2 separate regions of the Homo sapiens genome follow, and region 1 is linked to region 2. Evidence: promoter capture Hi-C in human tissues and cell types (Jung and others, 2019). All regions are on one chromosome and are shown on one strand. The core of a region is centred on a gene start or on the middle of the fragment in contact, and the rest is flanking DNA. Distances in the headings are between cores, read along the strand shown.

Region 1 (3,580 bases), core at 429-2,928, 1.6 Mb before region 2:
GAACCAACCCAAATGTCCAACAATGATAGACTGGATTAAGAAAATGTGGCACATATACACCATGGAATACTATGCAGCCATAAAAAATGATGAGTTCGTGTCCTTTGTAGGGACATGGATGAAGCTGGAAATCATCATTCTCAGCAAACTATCGCAAGGACAGAAAACCAAACACCGCATGTTCTCACTCATAGGTGGGAATTGAACAATGAGAACACATGGACACAGGAAGGGGAACATCACACACCGGGGACTGTTGTGGGGTGGGGGGAGGGGGGAGGGATAGCATTAGGAGATATACCTAATGCTAAATGATGAGTTAATGGGTGCAGCGCACCAGCATGGCACATGTATACATATGTAACAAACCTGCACGTTGTGCACATGTACCCTAAAACTTAAAGTACAATAATAATAATAATAATAATGAAAAAGTTTTCAGCTACAAGAACCTTGGATGTTAACTTCAAAATACAAAGGGTAGCAGGAGTGATAGTGCTGCAGCGGTAGCATAGGTAGAGTGATGAGTTTCTAGGAATAAAAATTTATTTACATTTCATGGGTCAGAAAAGGATCCAGGGAGATATAATTGCAGGACAATAGACCAGATGATGTCTAAAGTTGCTCACAGCTCTGAAATTCTGTGATTAGATGGATGCTATGTTTTAGGTAATTGTTATTTAATGTCTAGGAATCTTAAGAAAATCCTTTTCTTATTCCTAAGGACAGAATTTGCAGAGGATGTGGTCTGCATAATCTGTTTTATGTCATTTAATATAAGAGGGCTAGAGAGGTCAATTGGAAATTTCAAAATGAAATGCTCACCAAATTCCCTAGTTCATTCACAACACATGTTTTAATTTGAATAACAAATGCAGTAACAACTTTCAAAAGTCTACAAAATATATCTAGATTAGGAAAGGGAATTATAGCAGAGGGAGGAGAATTATGCACCATCTGAGGAGAAAACTATAATCATGGTTTGCATTTTTAATGGCGGAAATGAGTTTTTGTTTTTATTTTCTTTTGGCTCTGATTTTCAAACTGCAATAGAGATAGGGCTTGCCACATAATGAGCAATGTTATGTCTATGAGACACCCTAAATGGACTGAAAAGGGATGGTACCAGTTCAATCTTTCCTCTGCGATTCTGCTTTTGATTAAACTTAGGTCTGTCTCCCATTTTTTTCCTCTCCTTCTTGATGGGGAAATCAATTGGCTGTTTTGTTTCAGTGTTATATATCCCATAAGTGTCATTCTCTAAGAACCAAATGAGCTTCTTGAAATTTTTACTTCTCCCTTGATTCATGCAAGAGATTTCAATTAAGCAGGCTCTCCACCAATGGCATTTCTTGTTTGTTACTGAAGCTCCTTCAACATGCAAATAACTGGCCCTTCAAAATTTCTTTTATATGTTTGGAGATGTCCCTCCAAAAGATTGATTGATTGGTGTTCTCTTTGCAGTGACTTTGTTTTTCTTCAACTAAAAATTGAAGATTGCACTAAAAGAGTAATAAACTTTAAAAACTCATGGCTCCTGGAGTGAAGTTATCAGCAATGGAGTAACAACCATTGAGACTACTTTGCAGAACCATATTTCTAAAGCCTCATAATTAACTACAAAATTTGAAAGAGAAACACCTAAGTGGACGTGGTGAGTGAGATGGGTGGGAACAATTCTCTGAGAAAGTAGAGTCAGTCCCATGTTTTGATGAGAATTCCTGTGGTACAGCCCTGCTGAACCAAGCTTGGCGGAACATACTTTTTTTTTTTTTTTTTTTTTTAACAGAATGAAAGAAGGACAAATCATGAAAGAAGACAGATCTAAAAACAGACATGATTGGTATGCAAAGGGATGAGTACAGAACACTTGAAGGCTGTGTATATCTGAGTAAAACACTTATTTTCTAAGCCTTCTGTACAGAATCTTTATTTCACTGGATATAGGCAGCACCCAGAGAACTTTGTGGGGAAAAAGTCAACACAATAAAGAGATACTAGAGAAAATTGTTGTGATATTTATGAACTGTTTTATGAAAAACTTCTCCTTGAACATGAAGCTTAACACTGTAATAGTGACTTTGATTTATTCTGCTATAGAAACCTAGCAGAGAAGGTTAACTTAAGATAACTTTGATTATTCCTACGACATTAGCTCAGAGAATATTTTTTGGAATCTTCATCAGCACTCAACAACAGGAGCACCAGGTAACGCCATTTACTGAACAACTACTATGTGCCACACACTGCATTAGAGGTTTTCTTTATACATTTTTTATCAATTTTAATTTATCACTTGGATTTTATATGGATTTATTCGATTCCTACAATAACATTATAAAACATTATCTCCATTTTAAAGATTCAAAAACTGAGCCTCAAAGAGATTAAATAACTTGTCCAGGTTGTGTAACTACATTGCAGAGCCAGGATCCAAATCCACATCTGTCTGCATCAGACAGATGCAGATGCCAAGGCTGGCAGGATCAGATCTTAGCTGGGCACTTGCAGAACAAAGCAGGGCTTTTGGAAGTAGTCTTAGGATGGACCCCCAAGAATCCTCAGAAACTGTGCCAAGCCAGGTCCAGATGCAATATACTGAAATATTCTTTATCTTCTTCCCCATTTGGGGACCTTAGTAGGTGATTCTGTTTCTCTGCATGATGCATGTACCTTGCTGGGTGGCTGTGGTTGTTGGCAGAAGAACCTTCCTGCAGACTGGCCAGGAAATCAGAAGGAGCAAGGGCAGGCAAAGTTGACTGCAAGAGGCAGATGACTTCCCAACTCCTATGGGTCTGTGTGGGTTGGTAGCTTAAAGCTACAGGGAAACTGGCTACTGCCCAGCAATCCTCTTTGTCTATTGTTGACTCTAGTTGCACCCCACAGCAGCCTTCTAAACCTCTTTGCAAATAACCCTGCCTTTTAGTTTGCTGAGAGGATTGAGGTCATCTAGCATGGATTCTGTTTTTCTCCTCTCATCACTATTCGGTCTCCCTCAGGAATCAAAGGAAGAGTGGGCCTAGCCTCCTTCCAAGAGCCTCTCTGAGATGGGAGAATGGATTTCTGATATGGGCCATGTCTGGTCTGGCACTTCCTAAAGAAGCTGCTCTGGTTCTGTCCCAGAGTTCCAGCCACCAGCACCCACACACATGGGCCCAGCTTAGCTGCCCCTCCCTCACAGCCCAACCAGGGCTTTGGCCCCCTATCCCCTTTGACTGAGAGAAAGCATTCCAGACTCCTTTCCCAGAGCCCCTTGATCTGGCTGTCTAATTAGGAGACAGTCGATTCAAAGCCAGACCACTAACAATAAGAAGGGAGAGGCTCGGTTTCAGGCCATGCAGGAGGTTGTGGTTGAGAGAAAAGGGCCCAAGAGAAAAGAATCCAAGTCAGTGGTGGTAATCGGGGTTCGGAACAATTCTTTAGCTGAAGGGAGGGTGGCTGCAGTGGCCGATTGTCTAAATTTTATAGATTCAGGTACAGCCCCAGAGCAAACATCCTTAGCTTGACCAATGTCCAGATCATGAGCAGATATCAAGTGCCCAATATTCTGCTCGCTAATCTTTGGGTACTATGACAGAAC
Region 2 (3,711 bases), core at 449-2,948:
GTCTCAAAAAAAAAAAAAAAGTGCAGAGAGGAATTTAATTAATCATATAGTCAGCCTGAGGTATCCATTAGTCCATCAATAAAAACTTCAGAAGACAGTCTGAAGTAAGTCTGGAGTGTAGATGAGATCTGAGCTGTGGAGATAGTCACATCTAGGTAGAAGTGGCCTAGGAAAAAAAGCTTTAATGACATGCCCATAATTTGGGAACAAAGGTGGGCACAGCAATTCTCTGGGAGGTAGCAGAAAAACAGGGGCAAGTGGAATCAAGGAAGCCAAATTAAAAGAGTTTAAGAGAAGACCAGTCAAGAACATTAAACATAGGCCAGGCAGCAGTGGCTCATGCCTGTAATCCCAATGCTTGGGCAGACCGAGGCAGGAGCACTTGAGACCAGGAGTTTGAGACCAGCATGGGCAGCATAGCGAGACTCTGTTTCTAAAAATAAAGAAATTAAGAACATTAAATACAGCAGAAAGGTCACATGAGATGAACTGAAAAATGACCATTGGATTTGGTATTTGTTACTTTACCATTGTGTTGCAATCGTGTGTGAAAAATGGTGATGCTTTGTCATGAATAGAGACTAACAAAATAATAAATGATTTGAAGGACATGCATCTTTTTTGTTTGTTTGTTTTGAGTCAGGGTCTCACTGTGTCACCCAGGCTGAAATGCAGTGGCGCAATCTCAGCTCACGGCAGCCTCGACCTCCCGGACTCGCCATCCTCCCACCTCAACCTCCTGAGTAGCTGGGACCACAGTCACGTGCCACCACACCCAGATAATTTTTGTACTTTTAGTAGAGATAGGGGATGGGGGTGGGAGGTTCACCATGTTGGCCAGGCTGGTGTGGAACTCCCGGCCTCAAGTGATCCGCCCACCCTGGTTTCCCAAAGTGCTGGGATTACAGGCGTCAGCCACCGCCCAGCCCACTCTTTTAATACTAAACATATTATTTTCCCTGAATTAGATGAAATGTTCAATTTAATCTATTTTATCCCACCTTAGCAGGATTTGGAGAATTAAATTCAGCAGCCAAAGATCAGCTCACAACTTCTATCAGCAAACTCACGCACAAACTGTCATTTGTCAGACACTGTGAGGGACGTTATATGGGATACTTCAGCCTTTCTCAGAACTGAGCCATCCACAGTCAAGGTCTTGCAATAGAACCAATTTGAAAAGTCAAGGCTTCTAATCACCCAGACTCACCAAATTCCCAGGGCACTCAGATCTCACGCCCCAACCAAATCACAACTTCACTGTGGTAACCACCACCCACGTGCCCCCGAGCCTCCATGAACTGCCGGCCTCTAGCCTCAAGGAGACTCCTCCACCCAATCACTCCTTGCCTTGAGCTGGCCGGGAGTTTGGCGCGGGGCAGGGAAGGCTGCTGCTGCTGCTGCTCCGGTCGCCCGCAGCTCCTGACGTGCCAGGACAGGTGGATGCAGAGACCACCTGGACCGAAGGGCGGCTCTGTGGAGTCTCCTGGAGTCCGAAATTGTAGCGGGGACCCTGAGGTGAGCGGGTTTCTCCCGACGACGGGGAAACCGCCGGGGCAGAAGGCGAGGTTGATGAGATCTCAGGCCTCAGCATCCTCCCAAACCTTCCCTGACCCGAGAAGTATGAGGTTTCTGAGCGACCCCTCCAGTAGCCCAACTACAGAAGCTGCGCCGCTGAAACGGGCGGGAGAACTGCGCGCCGACGCACTAAGCTGCACTGCGCAGGCGCAGGCAGGCTCAGCTTTCCACATGGATTCACGTACTTCAGGTCTATGACCCTGCTTCCAGCCATTCCCAAACCCATCACTTTCCACATGAACCTCACTGGAACATCCTCAGCCTGCAGGTATCAGACTGACCAGAACTCTGCAAGGCCCATCAATGACCACCCGATTTGTTAGCCCCATTATTCTCACAGCACCCAATCTCCCTTATTGCAAATGTTACATGCATTTCCCACACGTCCAAGCACACTAGCTTATCTTTAAATGTAGAAACCACCCAACACAGTACACCCAGTGCCTTTGACACAATGAGAACGTGTAATGCTCACACAGCATAACCCACCTAAGGTTGATCTTGTGACCAAATATAGGAAAGATAGTTATATTATCAAAAGATAGTATGCACATGGCTGTGTGCATAGTAGAGTAGGAAACAGGGAAAGACTGACTGGGTAAGATCTCTCAGTTAACAATTCCCCATCTACCAATTTCTAGTACTGTGGTTTCTAACATATAAATCAGTTAATGGCACACTAGAAGTTCAAACTCCAGCTTTGCAGTGGTGACCTTTAGAAAATTCCTTAAATAAGGCCAATAGTACCAACTTACCAGAGATCCATGGATTAAACATGACGAAATTATCTGGATACTGCCATACAGAAGCTATTAGAAGACATTAATTTACACCACTACTGAAATCCTGCCACTGTTGAGTATCTCAATAAACCAGTTATGCACAGCGGTTTACCCACATGCAGTGACAACAGTCCTTAAGAACATCTCTGTTCTTGGAATGATTATTGCACAGGGCATTCCAAACATACTTGAGAAAAATCTCAATTTCCATCAAAAAACCTTATTTTCAGATCGGGCACGATGGCTCCTCCCTGTAATCCCAGTACTTTGGGAGACTGAGGCCAGAGGATTACTTCACCTCCGGAGACCAGCCTGGGGAAGACAGTGCCTGTCCCCAAAATTAAGAAATCAGCTGGGCATAGTGGGCATGGTGGCAGGTACCTGTAGACCCTGGTACTCAGGAGGCTGAGGTGGAAGGACTGCTTGAGCCCAGGAGTTTAAGGTTACAGTGAGCTGTGATTGCACTACTATGCCCCAGCCTGGGGAAGAAAGGAAGACCCTGTCTCTAAAAAATAAAATTTAAAAATAGAGAATACCTCACTTTCACCAAAACTGTAAACCCCTAGAGTGATTGTACTCATTTTAGGCCAGGCGTGGTGGCTCACGCCTGTAATCCCAGCACTTTGGGAGGCCGAGGTGGGTGGATCACAAGGTCAGGCTGGTCTCCAGCTCCTCAGCATGGTGAAACCCTGTCTGTACTAAAGTAACATAAAAATTAGCCGGGCATGGTGGTGTGCGGCTGTAGTCCCAGCTACTCGAGAGGCTGCGGCTGAATTGCTTAAACCCGGCAGACGGAGGTTGCAGTTAAGCTGAGATCGTGCTGCTGCGCTCCAGCCTGGGCAACAGAGATTCTGTCACAAAAAAATAAAAAAGAGTGATTGTACCCATTTTAGCTTTTTAAGAAAAAGACAGGTGCAAAAAAATACTGTGGTGACCATCAACTTACCCGTTAGTGTTTCCTTATTTGAAGACAACTCCTTCTTTGGGTAATTCTGATATATAAAATGCTAAAAAAAAAAAAAAAAAAAAAAAAAAAAAGGACAGTCCGAATCACAACCCCATTTTAAGATGGTAGATTGCCATTTAACCTAAGTCTGTGACCAATTCAGAATAACCATATTCAAACCTATCAATCATTTCCAAATTTCAACAGCCATTTATTTTGTGCATCATTTAATTCATGTATGGGTTCTATCCACTTTCATCAGTTAACATTCTTGTTGACAAACCAATTTACATCAACTTGCTATAGAACAGATGAAAGGTATACATGGGGGAAAAATCAAGTAGAAACCTAGAGTTATTTTATGTTAGCTCAGTTATTGAACATAACAGACACAGAAGTATACAC

Evidence for each region. The method cuts DNA at HindIII sites, captures the fragments that hold promoters and counts their contacts. A contact is called where the count stands out against the background at its distance.
Region 1: a fragment that was not itself captured here is called in contact with the fragment with the promoter of MSH4 in region 2 in 1 of the 25 tissues and cell types used here (hippocampus).

The regions. Positions count from the first base shown.
Region 1 is chr1:77,399,138-77,402,717 of GRCh38, reverse strand. The region is part of intron 6 of AK5 (adenylate kinase 5); the gene reads right to left. Among named protein-coding and RNA genes, the nearest start is that of AK5, 120 kb to the right of the region's middle. The HindIII fragment of the contact is 6,080 bases long and covers 1-3,580 here.
Region 2 is chr1:75,794,869-75,798,579 of GRCh38, reverse strand. It overlaps MSH4 (mutS homolog 4), which reads right to left and starts at 1,698. Exons shown (of 20, transcript NM_002440.4): 1 at 1,351-1,698. The coding sequence starts at 1,594. RABGGTB (Rab geranylgeranyltransferase subunit beta) reads right to left here. Exons shown (of 9, transcript NM_004582.4): 9 at 3,494-3,711. The HindIII fragment of the contact is 10,447 bases long and covers 1-3,711 here.